4 separate regions of the Homo sapiens genome follow, and all the other regions are linked to region 1. Evidence: promoter capture Hi-C in 16 types of primary human blood cells and fetal thymus (Javierre and others, 2016). All regions are on one chromosome and are shown on one strand. The core of a region is centred on a gene start or on the middle of the fragment in contact, and the rest is flanking DNA. Distances in the headings are between cores, read along the strand shown.

The links. The method cuts DNA at HindIII sites, captures the fragments that hold promoters and counts their contacts. A CHiCAGO score of 5 or more calls a contact.
Region 2: a fragment that was not itself captured here is called in contact with the fragment with the promoter of ARHGAP19 in region 1 in 1 of 17 cell types (neutrophils); the score reaches 7.3 in neutrophils.
Region 3: a contact is called between a fragment that was not itself captured here and the fragment with the promoter of ARHGAP19 in region 1, in 2 of 17 cell types (neutrophils and monocytes). The highest score is 9.4, in neutrophils.
Region 4: a contact is called between a fragment that was not itself captured here and the fragment with the promoter of ARHGAP19 in region 1, in 1 of 17 cell types (neutrophils). The highest score is 6.9, in neutrophils.

Annotation. Positions count from the first base shown.
Region 1 is chr10:97,289,561-97,295,404 of GRCh38, forward strand. It overlaps ARHGAP19 (Rho GTPase activating protein 19), which reads right to left and starts at 3,077. Exons shown (of 12, transcript NM_032900.6): 1 at 3,012-3,077. The coding sequence starts at 3,067. ARHGAP19-SLIT1 (ARHGAP19-SLIT1 readthrough (NMD candidate)) reads right to left here and starts at 3,113. Exons shown (of 15, transcript NR_037909.1): 1 at 3,012-3,113. RefSeq lists enhancers at 372-1,130, 1,889-2,647, 2,648-3,404 and a silencer at 2,749-2,798. The HindIII fragment of the contact is 8,887 bases long and covers 1-4,509 here.
Region 2 is chr10:97,681,292-97,687,135 of GRCh38, forward strand. It overlaps AVPI1 (arginine vasopressin induced 1), which reads right to left. Exons shown (of 3, transcript NM_021732.3): 1 at 5,475-5,844. Among named protein-coding and RNA genes, the nearest start is that of AVPI1, 3.0 kb to the right of the region's middle. RefSeq lists enhancers at 5,087-5,844, 5,774-5,844. The HindIII fragment of the contact is 3,658 bases long and covers 1,182-4,839 here.
Region 3 is chr10:97,651,322-97,657,165 of GRCh38, forward strand. It overlaps PI4K2A (phosphatidylinositol 4-kinase type 2 alpha), which reads left to right. Exons shown (of 9, transcript NM_018425.4): 3 at 4,964-5,095; 4 at 5,500-5,653. Among named protein-coding and RNA genes, the nearest start is that of PI4K2A, 14 kb to the left of the region's middle. RefSeq lists an enhancer at 25-1,224. The HindIII fragment of the contact is 617 bases long and covers 2,649-3,265 here.
Region 4 is chr10:97,630,719-97,636,562 of GRCh38, forward strand. MORN4 (MORN repeat containing 4) reads right to left here and starts at 2,782. Exons shown (of 5, transcript NM_178832.4): 1 at 2,629-2,782. RefSeq lists an enhancer at 3,046-3,135. The HindIII fragment of the contact is 4,610 bases long and covers 1,399-5,844 here.

The DNA of each region.
Region 1 (5,844 bases), core at 1,827-4,326:
CGCAGTGGCTGACACCTATAATCCCAGCACTTTGGGAGCCCAAGGCAGGAGGATCACTTATGCCAGGAACTCAAGACCACCCTGGGCAACATGGCAAGACCCCGGTTTCTACAAAAAAACAAAACAACAACAACAACAAAAACACTAGCTGGGCATAGTGGCACGTGCCTGTAGTCCCAACTACTCAGGAGGCTGAGGAGGGAGGACCAGTTGAGCCCAGGAGGTTGAGGCTGCAGGGACCTGTGATCGTATCACTGCACTCCAGCCTGGGCAACAGAAGGAGCCCTGTGTTAAAAAAAAAAAAAAGAAAGAAAGAAAGAAAAGAAAAAGAAAAGAAAAGAAAATAAATTCAAACTACTCTTGCTATGGAATAGTATTTTATTTGTCCTCAGATTTTCACCAAAATTTAGAAATTTTTAAAGAACTGGATGAAGGATGATCTAATCAAATGTATCAATCACCTCTACAGTTCCCGGGCAAAAAAAAAAAATGATCAACCATTTATAGGCAGCTTCAAGAGTGGAAAACTCGGGCAACCCCCTTTGGGTCCCCTCCCTTTGTATGGGAACTCTGTTTTCACTCTATTTCACTCTATTAAATCTTGCAACTGCACTCTTCTGGTCTATGTTTGTTATGGCTGGAGCTGAGCTTTTGCTCGCCCTCTACCACTGCTGTTTGCCGCTGTCGCAGACCCGCCGCTGACTCCCATCCCGCTGCTGACTCCCATCCCTCCGGATCTGGCAGGGTGTCTGCTGTGCTCCTGATCCAGTGAGACTCCCATTGCCACTCCCGATCGTGCTAAAGGCTTGCCATTGTTCCTGCATGGCTAAGTGCCTGGGTTCGTCCTAATCAAGTTGAACACCAGTCACTGGGTTCCACGGTTCTCTTCCGTGACCCACAGCTTCTAATAGAGCTGTAACACTCACCCCATGGCCCAAGATTCCATTCCTTGGAATCGGTGAGGCTGAGAACCCCAGGTCAGAGAACACTAGGCTTGCCACCATCCTGGAAGCGGCCCGCCATCATCTTAGAAGCGGCTGGCCACCATCTTGGGAGCTCTGTGAGCAAGGACCCCCGGTAACATTTTGGTGACCACGAAGGGGCATCCAAAGCGTTTGTCTCTTCCAGAATTGAAACTGTAAAACTACAAATCATTCTTCAAATGGAGCCCCAGATGCAGTCTATGACTAAGATCCACCGCGGACCCCTGGAACAGCCTGCTAGCCCATGCTCCGATGTTAATGACATCGAAGGCAACCCTCCCGAGGAAATCTCAACTGCACAACCCCTACTACGCCCCAATTCAGCAGGAAGCAGTTAGGGCGGTCATCGGCCAATCTCCCCAACAGCACTTGGGTTTTCCTGTTGAGAAGGGGGACTGAGAGACAGGACTAGCTGGATTTCCTAGGCCAACTAAGAATCCCTGAGCCTAGCTGGGAATGTGACCGCATCCACCTTTAAACACGGGGCTTGCAACTTAGCTCACACCCAACCAATCAGAGAGCTCACTAAAATGCTAATTAGGCAAAAACAGGAGGTAAAGAAATAGCCAATCATCTCTTGCCTGAGAGCACAGCGGGAGGGACAAGGATCAGGATATAAACCCAGGCATTAGAGCCAGCAACGGCCACCCACTTTGGGTCCCCTCCCTTTGTGTGGGAGCTGTGTTTTCACTCTATTTCACTCTATGAAATCTTGCAACTGCAAAACAAAAACAAAACAAAACAAAAAAGAGTGGAAAACTCTTCCATATCATATTTTATTTTATTTATTTATTTGAGACATAGTCTTGCTCTGTCACCCAGGGTGGAATGCAATGGCGCATCTGGGCTCACTGCAACCTCCGCCTCAACCTCCTGAGTAGCTGGGACTACAGGCGCCCGCCACCACACCCGGCTAATTATTGTATTTTTAGTAGAGACGGGCTTTCATCATGTTCGCCAGGCTGGTCTCGAACTCCTGATCTCAGGTGATCCGCTCCCCTCGGCTTCCCAAAGTGCTGGGATTACAGGCGTAAGCCACCATGCCCGGCCCCGTATGATATTTTAAATAACACACTCAACCACGCTCATCTGGGCTCAGGAAGAAGCCGAGTCACAAAGTTATTAGTTTCCCAAGATTCTTGGAATCTCTTATTCGGTACAAATGGAACCAAAAGACGCCAAACCGAAGTATTTTACTGAGTTACACTGAGGCAACGTAAATAAACTCAATCTATTGAATTACACCAAAAACAAAATTGTAATCAATTAAGACAACTTAGGTCTCAAGGCTAAGGCAACACCACCTCGAAATTCTCTCCTGAAAACGCTAAATCTCGGTGTGGCTGTTTAGGAAAGAACATCCTGTGGAAATAAAGTCATGATGTCCTGGACTACAGATCCCTCTCCCATCTGCTCCTTAGCTGTTCTACTAGGAAGAAGAAAATCTATTGCGTAGAGTTGTCATTATCGGCTAAACTCAGTGCTAGCTTTAAATGGATTGTCTTATTCAATCTTGACACTTGGAAATAGGCATCCTCACGTCCCTTTGCAGATGAAGAAACTGAAGTCGAGAGAGGTTTAAAAACTGGCCCAAGGACTCAACACTGTTTCTAATTGACACTCAAATCCTTGCTCGGACCTGAACGCACAAAGTGCCTCGGAGAAGATGTGAAGCGCTGTGTGCAACAGTGAGGAATTCGCTAACCAGCCCTGGACTTCCGTTTCCTCGCCATCAAGAGGTGTCTCGGCGCCAAAGCGATCAGCGCTGCCACCCCCAGCTGGACGTCTGCAGCCAGCGCAGCGGGAGGAGCCCCCTCGGGCACCGGCAGGACCGAGCGGGGGGTTTGGCTGGAGTCCAGCGCCCAGGCCCGACCCCCGCGCCTCAGCCCCCGCAGGCGCGACGATGAGAAACGCCGTGGGAGAAAGAAACAAAGCCCGAACCGTGCGCCTCCGTGACCCAAGGCAAAGGCGGCAGGACTACCAGCCCAAGGCCGCGTTTCCCAGGAAACTGGACCAAACTCAGCTCACCTCCGGCCGGATTCGCGGGCTGGCACCTCCCCTTCACTCTGTGCCTCAGTCGCCATCTTCGTCAGCAAACTTCTTTCACCGCCCCACCTTACGTCCCGCCCCCACATATTTGGATTGGCTAATATGTTTTCACCTCTTCCGTGCGATTGGATGACTCGACCGCCCCTCCTCAACCTGAACCGTTTAATATATTATTGGTCTATTCAAATGACTAACCGTCATTGGTCGTTCCCAGCCCTGGCGGAAAAAGAGGGAGGGGCGGGGAAGAAGACCCAGCCCCGAGGCCTGCCGGGAGTTGTAGTTTCTCATTTTGATGAACCCTTCCGATTCCACAGACCTTTAGGTTCAAGTCAGAAATCACCAGCCTATGCTCAAATTTTGTCCTGATATGTAAATCAGGGAATTATAGAACTGTCAACTTTGAAAGTGACTCATCACTTTCTAAAATGCAAGACTCCGTACCCTATATCTCAGCATCACACAATATACCCAGATAACAAACCAACTCATGTACCCCCTAAATTTAAAATAAAAGTTGAAAATAAATAATTTTTTTTTACAATTTTTTTAATTTTTTTTTTCTGTTGAGACAGGGTTTCACCATGTTGCCCAGGCTGGTCTCGAACCCCTGAGCTCAAGCAATCCTCCTATGTCAGCCTCCCAAAGTGCTGGGATTACAGGCATGAGGCACTGCACCCAGCCATAAATTAATTCATTTAATTTAATGTAATTTAATGCAAGACTCGTTCTCTGTCTTGACCCAGAGATAAATCCCTCAAGTGCAGGCAGGGAGTGGCAACCTAGAAGTACTTGCTTTTAAACGTATAGTTCAAAGCCTTCTTTCTTCAGATACTCAGCATAGCCCTAGCCATAGGTCATTTCTTTCTTCCTTTATTTCTTTCTTTTTTTTTTTTTTTTGAGATAAGGTCTCCCTCTGTCTCCCATGCTGGAGCACAGTACAATATTGCAGCATACCAACACACAGGGCAAATTTTTGTACTTTTTGTAGAGATGGGGTTTCACCCTGTTGGCCAGGCTGGAGTCGGTCATTTCTGCTTCAATACATTCACTCCCTTCCAACTTCCCAGAGAACCCACAGAGTTTGCCTTGTGATATGAACCATGGAACCAAAAGCTGCATGACTTTGTCCCAAACTAAACTTTAATCCTCAATGGTAGGAATAACCATAATTATCCTTGTCCTCCCTGCGGCACACACTTCTCCTAGGGATTAACTGAGGCAACATATGTGAGAACATTGTAAATTTTGAGCATTGTTGTTTTTTGTTTTTCCATATTGTTTTCCTATGCTGGACTTTTCTCGGGAATTTCTGTATTGATCCTTCTGATATCCTGCCACCTGGGGCTCTCCCTGCACTCTGCCTCCTTTTTACTAAACTGTACTGCACATGCTTCACTTTCTGAACTGTCTTAGGGCTTTTGCACATGTTGCTTTTTCTGGCTCGTCCATTTTTCCACTTTTTTGGCTTTCAGGTCGAAGCTTAAATGTCACTGGCTCAAAGATCTTCCATGACCCCCATTGTATAAATCAATTCCCTCAGTAAACTTTCACAAAGAACTCTGTACTATTCTTTCACAGTTCATATCACAACTCACAATTACATAGTCATTTGTGTGACTATTTATTTCATGTGAGGGTTCCCAGCTAGGCTTCCTGCCACAAGTGGGCAGAGACTATATTTATTTTGCTCCCCACAGTTTCTGGCACATAATGGCTGTCCAATAAATATTTTTGAAAAATATAAGCAAGTCCTCAAACTATTATATCCAAATAAAAAATCAAATCATATACTCTAATAGATTTTTTTCAATTGATGAATTAATACTAAAAGTTTGATAAGGGCTAGGCACAGTGGCCTACACCCATAATCCCATCACTTTTGGAGGCTGAGGCAGGAGGATCACCTGGGCCCAGGAGTTCAAGGTTAAAGTGAGCTATGATTGTGCCACTGAACTCCAGGCTGTGCGACAGAATGAGACCCTTTCTCTAAAAAAGAAAATAAAAGTTTGATAAATGTGTCCAAATAAAATTGCATTTAGTTTGATGTTTTTTATGTTTTTTGTTTGAAACAGAGTCTCACTCTGTTGCCTAGGATGGAGTGTAGTGGCATGGTCTCCACTCACTGCAACCTCTGCCTCCCGAGTTCAAGCAATTCTCCAGCCTCAGACACTCAAGTAGCTGGGATTACAGGTGTGTGCCACCACATCTGGCTAATTTTTGTATTTGAGTAGAGATGGGTTTTGCCACGTTGGCCAGACTGGTCTCGAACTCCTGAACTCAAGTGATCTACCCACCTAGGCTTCCCAAAGTGCTGGGACTACAGGTGTGAGCCACCATGCCCAGTCTTATTTAGTTTGATGTTTAACAAATCATGTTTATTGAGCAAATACATGGAAAGAAACATAAAATTTAGCAAACGTATCAGTGAAATTTTTCATTGAACCTCAGACAGCCTTAGAAAATCCAGGCTGGGATCACTTGAGCCCAGGAGATTGAGACTACAGCAAGCCATGTTCATGCCACTGCACTCCACCCTGACAGAGCAAGACCCTGTCTCAAAAAAACAAAAAACAAAAAACAAAAAAAGAAAAAGAAGCCAAGTGTGATGGCTCACGCCTGTAATCCCAGCACTTTGGGAGGTCGAGGCAGGTAGATCACTTGAGGTCAGGAGTTCAAGACCAGCCTGACCAAAATGGTGAAATCCCATCTCTACTAAAAATACAAAAAAATAGCCGGGCATGGTGGCACACACCTGTAATCCCAGCTACTCAGGAGGCTGAGGCAGGAGAATCGCTTGAAACCAGGAAGTGGA
Region 2 (5,844 bases), core at 1,761-4,260, 390 kb after region 1:
ACAATGATATGGCTGGGCGTGGTGGCTCACACCTGTAATCCCAGCACTTTGGGAGGTGAGGCGGGCGGATCACCTGAGGTCAGGAGTTCAAGACCAGCCTGACCAACATTGAGAAACTCCGTCTCTACTAAAAATACAAAAGTAGCCGGGCGTGGTGGCGCATGCCTGTAATCCCAGCTACTCGGGAGGCTGAGGCAGGAGAATCACTTGAACCCAGGAGGCAGAGGTTGCGGTGAGCCGAGATCCCGCCATTGCACTCCAGCCTGGGCAACAAGAGCAAAACTCCGTCTTAAAAAAAAGAATACGGCCGGGCGCGGTGGCTCACGCCTGTAATCCAGCACTTTGGGAGGCCGAGGTGGGTGGATCATGAGGTCAGGAGATAGAGACCATCCTGGCTAACAAGGTGAAACCCCGTCTCTACTAAAAAATACAAAAAATTAGCCGGGCGCGGTGGCGGGCGCCTGTAGTCCCAGCTACTCGGGAGGCTGAGGCAGGAGAATGGCGTGAACCCGGGAAGCGGAGCTTGCAGTGAGCCGAGATTGCGCCACTGCAGTCCGCAGTCCGGCCTGGGCGACAGAGCGAGACTCCGTCTCAAAAAAAAAGAAAAAAAAAAAAAAAAGAAAAAAAGAATACAATGATACAACAATTAAAAAATACAAATAAAAAATAGATACATTGTAACTACAAAACATTCACATTGTATTAGGTATTATAAGTACCCTAGAGATGATTTAAAGCATGCAGGAGGATGTGCGCAGTCTATAGGCCAACATGGCATTTTATGTAAGTGACTTAAGCGTCCCACGGAGGAGCCTGGAACCACCCTCCATGGATACTGAGGAATTTATAAACGCAAATCCTCCTCTGTTGGCCTCTGTGACCTTTGTACCTGGGTCAGGGGTACAGGTAAACCCTCCTCTTTCCTCTAAGCTGTGTGGCACAGCCAGCTGATGACAGGCCTGTGCTCCCACCCATCTCTCCCAGCCCCAGGCCTGCTGGGGAGAGGAGGAGCAGGTCCTGCTGCTTCTCCAGGGCCTGGTTGCCTAAGTCAGACCTCATTCCACAGCCAGCTACAGAGACAGCTGTCAACAGCAACCAGCTTCCAAAAGGGGAAAAGGAACATTAAAATATTTTTAAATTAAAATATTTACATGCTCATCATAAGAGGCAAACAGTACAAAAGCTTATATATAAAAACTTTTCCAATTTCCTATCAACCCACTTGCAGAAGTAACCCTTCCCCTAACCTGCCTTTTGTTCTCTGTAAGAGTTTGAATTGTCTCCGCCCCACTCATACTCCCAAAATATGACTCCCCCCCTTGCCCTGGCCTTCTCCGCTCCTCACCTCAATAGTCACCCTCATTATCCCAATCATTTCTATGCTCACTCTGTCCCAGTTTCCAGGCCTTCTATCATAAAAACTCCACCCTGTTTTCAAAAGATTTAACAACTACAATAAAGCTGCAGAAGACTTCCAGATGAGTTAACGTCATGAAAATTGTATTTTATTTGGAAAATGGAAATTTAAAAATCTGCCTCTCCTTAGGTGCTATTATGAAAATCCAGTTAAAACCTAATCTATATGGTAATTAAGCCCCCAGAGCTGGATGACATAAACACACTGTGACAAGAAGACAACAGTCGCCAAGTAACACTTTTAGGCTGATAAAAAGAAAAGCTAACTATGGGATATTTACTCTGGATCAGGCAATACGTATGATATCCTTTAATCCTCAAAACAATTCTAGGAGTTAGGGACTGTTATCCCATTTCACAGGGAAGTAAAGGGAAGCTAAGATGCAAATATGAGTACCAGTGGCTTAGCCGAGGCCAGAGGTGGTTCAAATGACTGCAGCCCATGCTTTTATTTTTATTTTTTTTTTGAGAGTGAGTTTTGCTCTTGTTGTCCAGGTTGGAGTGCAGTGTTGCAATCTCAGCTCACTGCAACCTCTACCTCCTGAGTTCAAGTGATTCTCCTGCCTCAGCCTCCCGAATAGCTGGGATTACAGGCGTCCCCCACCACTCCCGACTAATTTTTTGTATTTTTAGTAAAGACAGGGTTTCACCATGTTGGTCAGGCTGGTCTTGAACTCCTGACCTCAGGTGATCCACCCGCCTTGGCCTCCCAAAGTGTTGTGATTACAGGTGTGAGCCACTGCGCCCGGTCAGCCCACGCTTTTAAACCCCCGAGCTGGCTTCACAGCCAGGCAGCTTAAAGAACACTTCACATTTCTATGAAGAATGCTTTCCTATTCCCACCTAATTCATGAAGGGGAAATCCTACCAATGGAAAGGGAAGGACAATGAATTATCCCACCTGGTGGAGGCAGGGGTGGAGCTGTGGAATTTCGTTAGTCTGTTCTCTAGGGTCAGGGCTCTTTCCTGGGTGACAGCCCAGCCTTGAGCCGTAGCACTCTAAAGAGGAAGAGCCCAGCTTCCACAGAAGAAATCAAGAACTGCAACCCAGCCCAGTGCACAGAGCCCTGGCTTACGAGTCAGAGGAGTCGGTTCAAGCCCTACTTCTGCCACTCACTGGCTGAAAAACCTCAGGCAATTCACATCCCCTCTGTGGGTCAGCTTCCCTGTTACTGCTATAAGAACAGCTTGATGCTGTTTGTTTCTGAGGGCCTGCACCAGTGCTGAGAGTCAACAATTCCACCCGCAGGTAAGTCTGTACAGAAGGAGGAACGGAGCTACTTGTCTGCCAAAGCCTAGGGGCAATGTGTGGACAGGTCTGGCTAACTGGGTGCTAGGAAATTCCCCAGCCAGTAGCTCCCTTTCTCCTCCCTACTCTATGTTGTTTTGCTGCAGTGGGCCCTGGGGTTAGCATCTGGTAGAAAACAGAACTCACAGCTCTAAAGCTCCCTAGTGACCTCAGCTGGCAATGACCAAGCCCGGGGCAGACGCCTAGGCAGGTCTGGGGTAGTAGGAGAAAGGGTGATATCTGGCCTCACCTCCCCAGGAAAAGAAGGGCAATAAGGATCATGTAGCAGCAGCTGCCTCGGGGAGGAAATGGCTTGGAGCCTGACTTCCCAACAACCTCTCCCAGGATGGCAAGGCTTTGACTCCACAGCTTCAGCGAGCTGCGAGTCACAAACATACCAAGAAACCCTCAGGGAGAGTCTGAGCCTCCAGCCTCAACCCTCCTTGAACCTTAGGGAGGGCCTAGCACCTCCAGATTTTGAGGCCCCTCACTCTTTTTACTCTTTTTTTTTTTTTTTTTTGAGGCGGAGTCTCACTCTGTCACCCACGCTGGAGTGCAGTGGCGCAATCTCAGCTCACTGCAACCTCTGCCTCCAAGGTTCAAGCAATTTTCTTGCCTCAACAACCTCCCAAGTAGCTGGGATTACAGGTGCCCACCACACGCCCGACTAATTTTTGTATTTTTAGTAGAGACAAGGTTTCACCATGTTGGCCAGGCTGGTCTTGAACTCCCGACCTCAAGTGATCCACCCACCTCATCCTCCCAGAGTGTTGGGATTATAGGCGTGAGCCACCATGACCGGCCAAGCCCCTCACTCTTGGCTCTGTCTCTTATTCTGGGATTCAGACAGCAGAGTGAGGCTGGGAATAAAACTAGGCTGATTCCAGGTAGGATTAGATGGTTAAGTTTTGGGAAAACCGATGAAATGTCGAATCAGAACACTTTTATTATCAAAGGAAACTTTTCCTGTCTCATTCCATGTGTTCAATAGTTATTTTCCCTCCAATTTCCTGGAGAAGACCTTAGTCCAGGAAAAGTCAGTGTATACTTGCACAATAGTACTTTTGAAAACTAGAAAATGAAACCATGGGGCTATTAAAAGATTACAAATGGACCTTTCATTTCAGAACTGACATAAAAGAAGGTAAGTATGGGTCTGTGTACAAACGAGTAAAGACCAATTGCAAAATACTTCAATTTGACACAAACTAGGTTGAAAGTGAACCCCAAAGGAAATACCAAACATTGAAAATGACAAAGTTCAACTTGTTTTGAAACAGGCAATAAGTGAAGAACTGTGGAACCCTAACAAAGAAATATATTTAAAAAGTGACTCACCATGCAATGAATTTGCAATATATAAATATGGCGCGCAATTGAGCACTCTTTGCAATATATGAAGTTCAGTTCAGACAGCTATTCTAGGAGAGTATCTCACTGCAGTCCCAGGGAGGCACAGGTAACCACCAGAGGCAGAACACATTTGGGTGAGCTGGCAACTCCTAGGTCCTCATGCAGGAGGAGGCCCCCTTCCAATAACCCAGGTGATAGCAATAATCTCTGTAATCAGGGGCCTAGGGGCTCTTAGAAAAATTACTGGAGGCTCTGGCCCAAGGCCTGAATCAACACTTGGGACCCTGGCCTGCTATCCTATACAGACATGCCACTGGACAGCAGCCAAAATCTGTGGCTCCTCAAATGGGAAGCCCAGTTCAAATCGCTGTGTGGGCTTCCCCACCAGCAGGGCCTAGCCTCAGGGAGGTATGCCGAGACAACTGGATATACATTGGCCTCCAAATCCATGCCCCTGGAGGTGGAGAAAGGAACTGGGCCCTTTCCCCAGACCAGTTCTCATATATGACCTGGAAATAAACTGCTACTAGATCTAGGGATAACCCTTTCAAGATTTCTAGAACCCTGAATTCTGGCTGTGCTGCTAACTGGGTGACCTTGGATAAGTCTCAGTTTCCCCTGCCACAAGTTGCTCGTCATCAAAATAGTATAAGGCCAGGCCTGGTGGCTCACGCCTGTAATCCCAGCACTTTGGGAGGCTGAGGTGGGAGGATTGCTTGAGCCCAGGAGTTCCAGACCAGCCTGGTCAACATAGCAAGACTGCCTCTATAAAATTTTAAATAAGCTTTTTAAAATAAATGGTGAGTATAAATAACTCTTAACAGGAAAAGGGAGATTAAGTTTGTGACGGCATTCCTTCTAGTACCTGGTATACCACAGACATTCTATGCATGCTGGTTGAATGAATAAATGATGAAGGGAAAGGCTGTTTGACTACCAGGGGCTATAGAATCATTGTCATTTTCATCATCACAGCCATCAACAAATCTGTGTACTTTTAAATCATAGCTTTATGATTAAAATCATAGAGGCAGCTTGTTCAGTGTCAAGCGCAGAACAGAGCACGTTCAGATGGGTGCTTTCTTTCCTCCTCACTTAAGGTGGCACTATTGTTATACCCATTTTACAGATGAGAAAGCTACACCCAAAGTCACACAGCTGGCAGGTGATGGAAGCTGGGACATGAACCCAGGCAGTCTGACCCCAGCACCCGGGCTCTCAAGCCACTGTTATTTTTGTTCCTGCCAGATGGCTGAGGAGGTCTTCTGGGGAAGGTCGGTCCCAGAAGCCTTTCGGAGGCTATCTGCTTCTGTAGATTGTGGAAGGAGCAGGGAGGGATCCAAAGTCAGGACTCCCAAGCTAGCCTCTGTACCCTCTGCACTCCACTGCCCGGTGGAGAATTGGAGCAGGTACTCACCACACTGAAGGGCAGCTCCGACAGACCTCAAATGGGGATGGGGCAAGCTAAGATGCGCCCACTCCAACCTCTTCCACAGCCTTCAGAAAGGGCAGGCGCAGCTCTGCGAAGGTGCTTACAAGGGCCAGTCGGTGATCACGGGCAGCACAAGAGCATGGCAGAGGGTATCCTGGCCGAGGTCCTAAGGCGACATCTGCAGCACGAGGAGGCCCCGGGACTCAGACGTGGCCGCTTCGCAGAACGACGGGGTCCTAAGTGGATCTGGCGGTCGCGTCCCGCTGGCACCCCGGCTCTGACTGTCGCCCTCCGGCTCCCACCGCAGCGCCGAGCTGGGCCGCCGACCTACGTACCTGGTTGCTTGAGGCAGGCC
Region 3 (5,844 bases), core at 1,707-4,206, 360 kb after region 1:
GCTATCTTTTGAAGGATACACACACAATTTTTGCATACAATTTTAGGAAATTCACAAACTTCTACTGCATGTTTATGGCTCCCTTGGTCTTTGAATCCCAGCTAACCCCAAGCTAGTTAGAAACCTAGTGACTTTGTGGCTTACTCTCAGACTTCTGAGCCATCCCAGCATTTCGATACAGTCTAGGACTGGCTGATGACAGCTAAGAACTTCTGCAGGGTCTGACAAGGAAGACTTTAGGACAGGCTGAGGGTTAGAACAATGGTCTGGCCTGAACCCTACAGGGAACTGACATGGAATATTTCTAACTTATCTTTATGCTGTCGAATTTTGGGACTTGTCTGAACACATCAAAATAGGGGTGCCAGATCTAGGCAAACTCACACTCAGAATGGATTCATACACATCTTGTATGTGTTATAGACATAGTTGAGGTCTCCCCCAACCCCCACCCCCACCAATATGCTTGAATACAGAATTGATTGCATACAATTTGAGGGAGTTTACTGACACCAGGCTAAGAACCCCTGCACTACAAGGTATTCCATGAAACTCACCAAAGGTTATGAGGGGAAGGAATCTACTGGTCAGCATATGAACATGTCCGGACACATCATTCACTGAGTACGTGGCTACCTGGGGTTTAGTAACAACTTAGGTGGGACTCTCATCTGATGCCCTGAGGCTGCTGAGTCATCTAAACAATCCTGGCTCCGTGCTTAGTCTTAACTAGTCTATGCTAGTTTATTTAGTTATTTACTAAATAACTAAAACTAAATTTATTTAGTTATTTAGTAAATAACTCTTTGAGAATCTGATGAAACCTATAGACCCCCTTTCCAGAAAAAGTACATATATTTGCAATTATTGTTTTGTGTATAATTTTAGGGCAATGGTTCATAAACGTTGCAGTCTATCTGTTGACACCCCAGGGAGCATGTCTCTAGATTAAAATCCCTCTGCTTAAAGTTTTCTTTTCTTTCTTATTTTTAGAGACAGGGTCTTGCTCTGTTGCCCAGGCTGGGGTGCAGTGGCATGATCACAACTCACTGCAGCCTTGACCTCCCAGGCTCAAGCAGTCCTCCCACCTCAGCCTCTCAGGTTGGGACTACGGGCATGTGCCACCATGCCTGGCTAATTTTTTTTTTTTTTAATTTTTTGTAGAGACAAGGTCTCCCTGTTTTGCCCAGGCTGGTCTTGAACTCCTGGGCTCAAGCTATCCTCCTGCCTTGGCCTCCCAAAGTGCTGGGATTACAAGTGTGAGCCACCACACCCAGCCTTAAAGATGTCTTCTCAGGTTTAGATAGCAGATTCTATGAGCAAAGAGATTGATCAGCAGTAGAAACTTCCCTTCCGTTTGAGAGGAAAATGTGACTATTGTGGATATTTAACCATGTCTGCTCCTTTGCTACTAAACTCCAAACAATTAGCCAACTAGTTTGTAAGTTATAGAAGTCAGAGACCACTTCTCAAGATTTCCTCTCTCATTCTCAGCACCTAGCAAAATACTATATTTATAGTAAGCATTCATGAAGTACCAGCTGAGTCAGTAAATGAATATGAAATCATGAGAAACAATACCAAAGTTCTTCCAACTTTAGGTCTAGCGAGAAAATGTTTGACCAGGCTTCTAGTTCCCATTTCACATCTAATTCACTGCCTGGCTTTGTACAGCTCATTCCTTCTCTTTATGCCTTACTTTTCCCTCTCTGTGCAGATAGTTTTACAGCATGCTTTGAACATCTTGTATGATAATTAATGTTCTTAAGTCTCCTAACCTGAAATGCTTCTACTAGGCTCCTCTTAGACTCTAGAAACTTTTACATTCTCCTTGCTTATCACTCTATAGTTTTCTTCCTTTACTAGGCAAATAGCAGACCGTGTCTGGCTCTATGCCTACCTGCTCTGTTGGTGCTTCTGGAGTGTGGTGCCCAAGAATCAGAGGACTTGAGTTTGAATTCTTGCTCTGCAGTTTTTGATTTGTGTAACACTTGGGCAAGTCATGTAACCTCCCTAGGCTCAGTTTCCTTACTGTAAAAATAGGGATATAAATAGTTCCTACTTTGTAGAGTGGCCATCAATATTACACAAGACAGCCTATATGAAGCACATAGCTGAGTGAGTGCCAGGCACAACGTAAACCCTCCATATGTTAGCCTGTGATATTTTTATCAGCTATTCTAATCGTTAGTGTCACCCCCACAATCCCTTTCGTCCCTATCTTTGGTCTTCCTCTTTCCCTGTTAGAGAACCTTCACGAGGCCTGAGGATCTTTTGCATCAGAAAGTCAGCAACAACAAAAATACTTGTCTTGGCTGGGCTCATTGGCTCACGCCTGTAATCCCAGCACTTTGGGAGGCCTAAGTGGGTGGATCACCTCAGGTCAGGAGTTCGAGACCAGCCTGGCCAACAGGGTGAAACCCTGTCTCTACTAAAAATACAAAACTTAGCTGAGCATGGTGGTGCGTGCCTGTAATCCCAGCTACTTGGGAGGCTGAGGCAGGAGAATCGCTTGAACCTGGAAGGCAGAGGTTGCAGTGAGCTGAGATTGTGCCACCACACTCTATCCTGGGCAACAGAGCGAGACTCCGTCTCAAAAAAAAAAAATACTTGTCTTCCATGAGACTGAGATGAGACAGAACTTTGGAAGCTTAACATATAGCTGCTGGAGAATAGTAAGAGGACTCCTCTCCCTGTCTCCCCAACTCTTGTGACAGGACTCTATCCAGTTGATCAGAGCATCTGTCATTATAGAAACAAGGTTCACATTGCATTGGAACTTCAAATGGTAAGGCTCTAATTCTCACTCACTGGCTGTCTCTGCTCTCTGCTCCTATGAGGTTTCAGGTTATGATAGTTTCATTAGTCATGGGGAAAAAGTGGTTTGTTAGGAAGAATGATAGAAAATAAATATGATGGGGGCAAAAGGGGATTTATGGCTTGAGAGAGCCAGGAGTTTCACTGTGGACACTGGCAAGGTAGCCTTAGGAAAGCTCTTTTTCCTTCATTCCTATGCCTGAGTTTTCTGATTTGTAAGGCAGGGAGTGCCTACTACAGTACCATGCACATCCATTTTAGGTAGTCTATTAATACTAGATGGTAGCATGGAGCGATAGATGAGAGGCAGTTATTTTGCCTCTCAGGTTCATGGGAAAAAAAATAGTTATTTGTAATAAATTTTACAAGGCTTAGGAAAATACCTTTCTTATAAGTTTGATTTTAGGTATTTATATGCTAAAACTCACTTGTTGCTGTCTCTGAAAGAAGCTTGTAACTCATTCTTCATTCACTTAATAAATATTTAATGAGCATATGCCAGCTACTGTGTTAGGTGCTGTGGATGCTAATATAAATAAGATGTTCTCCGCTTCCTCAAATCTCATTCATTTTAAAGGAGGAGTTAGATATACAAATGGATAATTACAAGACAATGTGATAAGTGTGACAATAGATGCATATGTGGATTACAATTACGTCACTGCAATTTGACTTAAGTATAATATTGATGGCTCATAAAAATTTTTTTTAGAATAAGTAATGCATGCATCTAGTATAAAAATCAGAAGGCACATAGGGTAAACAGAGAAAAGTAATTCAGACTCCCTGCTACCCCTATCTCCTGGCCATTCAGTTTCCTTCCTCAGAGGCAGCCAGGATTACAGTGTATAGCCTATACATAAAAATAGCAGTTAATTAAAATGAAAACCAATTTTAATGTTTGTGTTTTGAATACGAATAATTTCACAAAGTAAAAAAATTCAAAAGGGCCCGGGCACAGTGGCTCATGCCTGTAATCCCAGCACTTTGGGAGGCCGAGGTAGGAGGATCACCTGAGGTCAGGAGATCAAGACCAGCCTGGCCAACATGGTGAAACCCTCTCTCTACTAAAAATACAAAAATTAGCCAGGAGTGGTGGCACACACCTGTAATCCCAGCTACTTGGGAGGCTGAGGCATGAGAATTGCTTGAATGCGGGACTTGGAGGTTGCAGTGAGCCGAGACTGTGCCACTGCACTCCAGCCTGGGCAACAGAGTGAGACTCTGTCTCAAAAAAAAAAAAAAAAAAAAATTTTTTTTCAAAAGGAAATGAAGGGGTACAGAGTAAATTGCAACTTGTTTGTCTCTGGAAAGAAGATGGGCATTTGGCCTAATCTAACCCAGGAGATGACAGTGTTAATCCTTGTACTTCATACTAGCTGCTGTAACAACCCTTAAATCTAAGTGGTTTAATACAATTGGATTGTATTTCTTTTTTATCATATTTTTTTTGGGACAGAGTCTCCCTCTGTCACCCAGGATAGAATGTGCAGTGGTGCGATCTTGGCTCACTGCAACCTCTGCCTCCAAGGTTCAAGCCATCCTCCCACCTCAGCCTCCGAAGTATCTAGGATTACAGACGTGCACCACCATGCCTGGCTAATTTTTGTATTTTTAGTAGAGACGGGGTTTAACCATGTTGGCCAGGCTGGTCTCGAACTCCTGACCTCAAGTGATCTGCCCACCTCGGCCTCTCAGAGTGCTGGGTTTACAGGTGTGAGCCACCACGCCTGGCCAGGAGTGTATTTCTTGATTACATCTCAGACTCATGCCAGATAGGCAGCTCTCCTAGATACCACATCACTCATGTAGTTACAAGGTATCCGAGGTTCTTCCATGGTGTGGCTCTGCTATTTCCCAGCCCTTCTTTCCTAGCTGCACAGACTGGAGAATGTGAATTAAGGATTGTGGGAGATTTTAGTTGCCAGCAGTGGAAGTGTTGTACATACATAATTTTGTCATTATTTCATTGGCCCAAACTAGTTATCTTCCCTCTCCTAGTTGCTGGGAAGGCTGAGAAATGTATTCTTTCTGTGCCCTGGAAGAGGAATAGGATTTGTGAACATCAAGCTATTTATTCTCTGCCATAGTCTTCTGGTTCCTTAAACTTGACTCTAACCTTAGTATCTCTTCTCTTTCACTGTAGGTAGTATACCTGGCCAGTGAGACCTTCAACTATAGTGCCATTGACCGAGTGAAGTCCAGGGGCAAGCGGCTTGCACTAGAGAAAGTGCCAAAAGTTGGACAGCGGTTTAACCGCATCGGGCTACCACCAAAGGTATAGACGCACCTCTGGCTTATCAAGGGTCATGATTTATAGTGACATAGTCATCCAAGTGGTGAAGCAAGGTGCCTACAACTCAAATATGGGCACGTGAATAACCTGCCCTGAGGATCCTGTCTTCCTTATTTCTGTCAAGTGGCTAAGGTTTGAAAAGTTGAGACCTAACTTTTCACTTTACTCCTCTGGTTCATTTGGATAGGTTCTTTAATTTGGATGGATGATCACTGTTACATCTCTTTTCTCCTGTACTTGCAAGAAATGAGGAAGTAAAGATCTTGAAAAGTTTTCCTTCTCTGATACAAACTCCATAGGGCCTTAATGGGTATCTGGCATATACTCCAAAGGTCTTTGGATTTGGGCAGTAGGGAAAAACCTTTGTTCCTTCCTCTTGGTTCCAGGTTGGTTCATTCCAGCTCTTTGTTGAAGGCTACAAAGATGCAGACTATTGGCTGCGGCGTTTTGAAGCAGAACCTCTTCCTGAGAACACTAACCGGCAACTACTGCTCCAGTTTGAGCGGTTGGTGGTGCTGGATTACATCATCCGCAACACTGGTGAGCAGCTGCAGGTGGTCCCATGCCCTGTGCCAGACTGTGTTGAGGCATGGGGAGGCCTGGAGGCTTGCAGGGCTTGGGAGTCAGAGTACCTTGTCCAGACACATCATGTGTAGTTTTCAGAAGTGGTGAGGCCTGGAGTTAGTATTTGCATTTTATCTTACACTCTTTCCTGGTTCCAGACAGAAGAC
Region 4 (5,844 bases), core at 2,454-4,953, 340 kb after region 1:
TGACTTTTATAATTAACCATGCTAATGAATAGCTTTACAGCTACTGACCTAAAAAGGAATTTCACCAGTAACCATGGTCATTGAGACAAACCTAGTTTAACAAAGTATAGTCAGTGCCGATGAAGACTGAAAGCCCAATACTTTTTTTTTTTTGAGGCAGTCTGGCTCTGTCATCCAAGCTGGAGTGCAGTGGCGTCATCTCAGCCACTGCAACCTCTGCCTCCTGGGCCCAAGCCATCCTCCCACCTTAGCCTCCTGAGTAGCTGGGACTACAGGAGCATGCCACGACACCCAGCTAATTTTTGCATTTTTTGGTAGAGACAGGGTTTTACCACGTTGCCCATGCTGGTCTTGAACTCCTGGGATCAAGTGATCTGCCTGCTTCAGCCTTCCAAAGTGCTAGGATTACAGGTGGGAGCCACCATGTCTGGCCCAATACTTTAATAAGGGATGCAAATCAGTATTTCTATCAGTTATCCAAATCATATTTTTAAAGAGAATATATGGCTCAGGAGTTTAGGCTACAGATACACCCATGGAATCCAGTCACAAACCAAGATGATTCACACTTCTAAACAGACACTCACCCTTTCTGCACTCCTGATAGATGGGTTGCAAAGGATCAGTCCAAACATTTACATAAAAGAAAATTACTATTCTGTCCCTGTAAACCAACACACTATTAGTCTGCACTATATACCATATTCCTGGTATCTTCATTTTCTTTTGTCCCAGACATTTCTTTTTAATTATTATTATTTTCTTATTTCCAAACAGAACTCTGAGGCAATAACGAGAATTTTTGTTTCCGTTCTTTTTATCGTTTTCTAATTTTAAGAAATCAACGTATTAAACAACATTTTTGTATTCACAGTAAACTGTGTCCAATTTAAGAGGATTAAAAAAAAAAAAACTGACATAAAGAGGAAAAAGGGCCAGGCATGATGGCTCACTCCTGTAATCCCAGCACGTTGGGAGGCTGAAGCAAGAGGATCGCTTGAGCCCAGGAGTTCAATACCAAGCTGGGAAACGTAGTGAGACCTCATCTCTACAAAACAATACAAAAATTTGCTGGGTGTGGTGGTGCATGCCTGTAGTCCCAGCTACTCAGGAGGCTGAGGTAGGAGGATTGCTTGAGCCCACAATTTGAGGCTGCCGGGGTGAGCAGTGACTGCACCACACCTGTACTCCAGCCTGGGCAACAGAGCCAGACCTTGTCTCAAAAAAAAGAAAAGAAAAGCAAAACAAAACAAAAGGTTGGGGCGGTGGGGGAGATCCAGTTAGAGAATACTGGGTGGAGGCAGCCACCCTAACTACCCACATGTCCCCCCAGAACCACCCTTCCCAGGGTACAATAGTCTTGTCAAATTATTTCAGTAATAAAGAAAGCAGTTCATAAGCTTTTAGAATCCTAAAGAGAAGAAAATGAAGGCTTTGATGAACAAAGATTAGCCTTGTTAGGAACCTAGAACAAAAAGTCAAATAATACTCCCCTTTTTTTTTTTTTTTTTTTTTTTTGAGACGGAGTCTTGCTCTGTCCCCCATGCTGGAGTGCAGTGGCAGGATCTTGGCTCACTGCAACCGCCGCCTCCCAGGTTCAAGCAATTCTCCTGCCTCAGCCTCCTGGGTAGTTGGGATTACAGGCACGTGCCACCATGCTTGGCTAATTTTTGTATTTTTAGTAGAGACGAGGTTTCACCATCTTGGCCAAGCTAGTTTTGAACTCCTGACTTCGTGATCCACCCGCCTCGGCCTCCCAAAGTGTTGGGATTACAGGCGTGAGCCACCGCGCCCGGCCTAAATATTTTTTTTTAAGTGTTTTAAAAGGAGCTCGAAATAACTGTTTTTCATTATAAGTCTAACCTCCTCTTTCCTCATGTGAAAAGTAAAGAAATGTATCGTTGCTATATGAAGGGTTCGTTTAGGGAAGACTGTGGGATGGTTAGATTGAAGAAAGTGGGAAGAAAATACTGGCGCCAAAAAGATTTTTTTTTTTTTTTATTTAAAGGCGATGATGACCTGGGGGTGATTGGGACTAGGGAGTAATACTGCCAGAATACTATCCTATTTCACGGGAAAGGGAATGCCAGGGCTGGACTCCGATATAGCAGTTATTCCTGCTGGTACCTAAGCAGTTCAGAGATGCTAGAATGCAGGGATACCACCCATCAACTAAATGAAGCATCCCATTCCCCAGGCTTCCATATGTGGGAGTTCTCTCCACCAGTGAGATAAAGGCGGGCTCAGGGAAAACAAAGCCCTAGACCACAACAAGGCAACACCTTCTCGCACCCCATTTTCACCTTCCAGGCGCGTTCCTTCCTGCTATCCGGGCCCGCTCTCCCGCCCGGCAGGGTCTAACGCTCACACAGGTCTGCCAATTCCCCTGATGCAACCCTCCACCCTCTGCTCGCTAACCCCAGTCCAGTCAGCTCTCCCGGGCCTCGACCCCCGCGGTGGAGACTAAAGGGTTCAGGTTTGGGTCCCCCACAGGCAACCGCCCTCAGGTCAGCGTATCCGAGGTGGAGCCGCGCCCCCGAGCCGGGTCATCTCGTGCTCCGTTCCTCAGTGCCCACCTGACCGATCACACTCTTTCCCGGCCCCCTCCCTCCTGCGCCTCCAGCCAACCTGGGGCCGGCCTTTCGGGATGACCGTCACGCCTGGACGCAGGGTTCCAGCGCCTCGGACTTTTCCTCTGATGGGCTCCCGGCTGCCACCTTGCTCTCCGCCACCTCCACCAGCGATTGCCCCACTTGACGCCGCCATCCTGGGCGACCGCACTGGGTACAATTCCCGCTGCCCATTGGCTGTTACCTAGGCAACCGGGAGCAACGCCACTCCGCATTGGCCCAGCCCGGCTCCACGCCATCTTTGTGCGGGGCCGAGTGTTTGCGAACCCGGGCTGACTATGTGAAAGAGGGGTGGTCCCACCTCTGCAACGCAGATAAAGACAGAGGATCCAGATCTGGCCTACCCAGAGGCCGTCTAGTTGAAATGGCAACCCCAAAGAAAACCAAACCTGCGCCCGAAGCAACAGTGACCATCAACGCGAGCGGCTCTGATCTTGCTCCAGTCCCCACTGCTGTCAAGGGCCCCGCCGCGGAGTTTAAGGCAGATCCTAAATCCAGCTTCAGAGAGGCAGCTTTGTAAATTGTAACGCGCTAGGCAGGATAGCCTCCAATAACTCTGTGCTAGACATTGTGATATCAAGACACTTTTGCATTCATTATAGGAATTTGTGCTGTCCTTGTCATTATCTAGATCCTTTTTGTTTAAAATATAGTACCTGGCCAGGCGCAGTGGCTCACATCTGTAATCCCAGCACTTCGGGAGGCCGCGGCTTGAGCTCAGGAGTGCGGGAGGCTTGAGCCCAAGAGTTCTAGATCAGCCTGGGCAACGCAGGGAGACTCCGTATCTACAGAAGAAAAAAATTACCCAGCCTAGTGGTGGGTGCCTGTAGTCACAGCTACTCAGGAGGCTGAGGTGGGAGGATCCCTTGAGCCCAGGAGGTTGAGGCTGCAATAAGCCATGATTCTGCCACTGTACCCCAGCCTGGGCGACCTAGCAAGACCCTGTCTCAAATAAATAAATTGCAAACCAAAAAGTATCTGAGACAGGTCTCAATCAATTTAGGAGTTTATTTTGCCAATGTTAAGGACATGCCCGTGACACAGCCTTAGAAGGTCCTAAGAATGTGTGTCCAAAATAGTCGGGACACCACTTGATTTTATACATTTTAGGGAGACGTAAGACATCAATCAATACATGTAAAATATACATTGGCTTGGTCCCGAAAGTGGGGGTGGGGGTGGCAAGTTCCAGGATGTAGGTGGATTCAAAGATGTCCTGATTGACAATTGGTTGAAAGAGTTTAAAGACCTGGAACCCACAGAAGGGAATGTCTGGGTTAAGTTAAGGAATTGTTACTAAGATATGCACGCACACACACACACACACACACACACACACACACACAAGGAATTGTGGAAATCAAGGTTTTTATTATGCAGAGAAGGCTACAGGTAGCAGGCTCCAGAGAGCATAGATTGTAAATGTTTCTTTATTTTTTTTTTTGTTTTGAGACAGGGTCTCCCTCTGTCACCCAGTCTGGAGTGCAGTAGCTGGATCACGGCTTACTGCAGCCTTGACCTCCCAGGCTCAAGTTATCCTCCCACCTCAGCCTCCTAAGTAGCTGAGACTACTGGTTCATTCCACTATGCCTGGCTTATTTTTGTATTTTTTGTAGAGATGGTGTTTTGTCATGTTGCCCAGGCTGGTATTGAACTCCTGGGCTCAAGTGATCCTCCCATCTCTGCCTCCCAAAGTGCTAGGATTACACGTGTGAGCCACCAAGGCTGGCCAGTGTTTATTATCAGATTTAGAAAGGTATCAGACTCTTAGTTAGTTCTCCCCTGGATCAGGAAAAAGACCTGGAAAGGGAAGGGGATTTTCTACAGAATGTAGATTTTCACCATAAAAGACACCTTTGCCTGCTATCATGACAGATGGGGCCTGCTATCTGTCAATGTTGGTATCATTGCTACAAAGAGTCTGCTGTGTCAACCTTAAGATCTCTGCTTTAATGTTAAATGCTGGTCCTGAATTCCAAAAGCAGGAGAAAATAATGAGGCATGTCTGACTCCCACTTCTCATCATGGCCTCAAATAGTTTTTCAGGTTAATTTAGGAATGCCCTTGGCCCAGAAGAGGAGGCCATTCATTTGATTGGGGGGCTTATAATTTTATTTCTGGTTCACTAGATAAATAAATAAATAAATAAAATATAGTGCCAAGATTGGAGCAAATCTTCCCAAATACCACTCACATCAATCTGTGTATCCATATGTTTATTTCTTAAACAATGTGAGTACAGCATGATGCTAGGTTCTGTCAGGCTTGAAAAGCCATGATTGTTACTCTTATGGCCTTTATAATTAGCTGAGTGTGGTGACAAGTGCCTGTGGTGCCAGCACTCGGGAGGTTAAGGCAAGAGAACTGCTTGAGCCTGGTTAACAGAGACCCTGTCTCAAAACATAAATAAATAAATAAATAAATAAATAAATAAATAAATAAATAAATAAAATGTAGTTTCTTGGCCAGGGGAATGACACACTACAAGCAGTATTTTATGAAAATTAATCTGACAGTGACACTCAGAGATGACCAGTGAGAGATTGGAAGCAAAGTAACAAACTCAGAAGTTATTGTAATAATGCAACTAACACATCCTGGAAGTTTCATGTAGCATCAGTGGAGATGAAAGAAAGGGGGTAAATATGAGACATATTTCATAGGGATATTTAATAAGAATCAACATAGTGTTAAGAGCATGGAAACAGTCTGCCTGGATTTGGATCCGGCTCTGCCATTTACCAGCTGAATGACCATGGGCACATTACCTTTACCTCCCTGGGTCTGGGTTTCCAACATCACAGGATACTATAAAGCTGGTTCCATGAGTTAATCCATGTAATGCATTTAAAACAATGTCTAGGCCGGGTGTGGTGGCTCATGCCTGTAATCCCAGCACTTTGGGAGGCCGAGGTGGGCGGATCATGAGGTCAACAGATCGAGACCATCCTGGCCAACATGGTGAAACCCCGTCTCTACTGAAAAATACAAAAATTAGCCGGATGTGGTGGCCCGCGCCTGTAGTCCCAGCTACTCAGGAGGCTGAGGCAGGAGAATCGCTTGAACCCGGGAGGCGGAGGTTGCGGTGAGCTGAGATTGCACAACTGCACTCCAGCCTGAGTGACAGAGCCGGCTAATTTTTGTATTTTTAGTAGAGACAGGGTTTCACCATCTTGACCAGGCTGGTCTCGAACTCCTGACCTCGTGATCCACC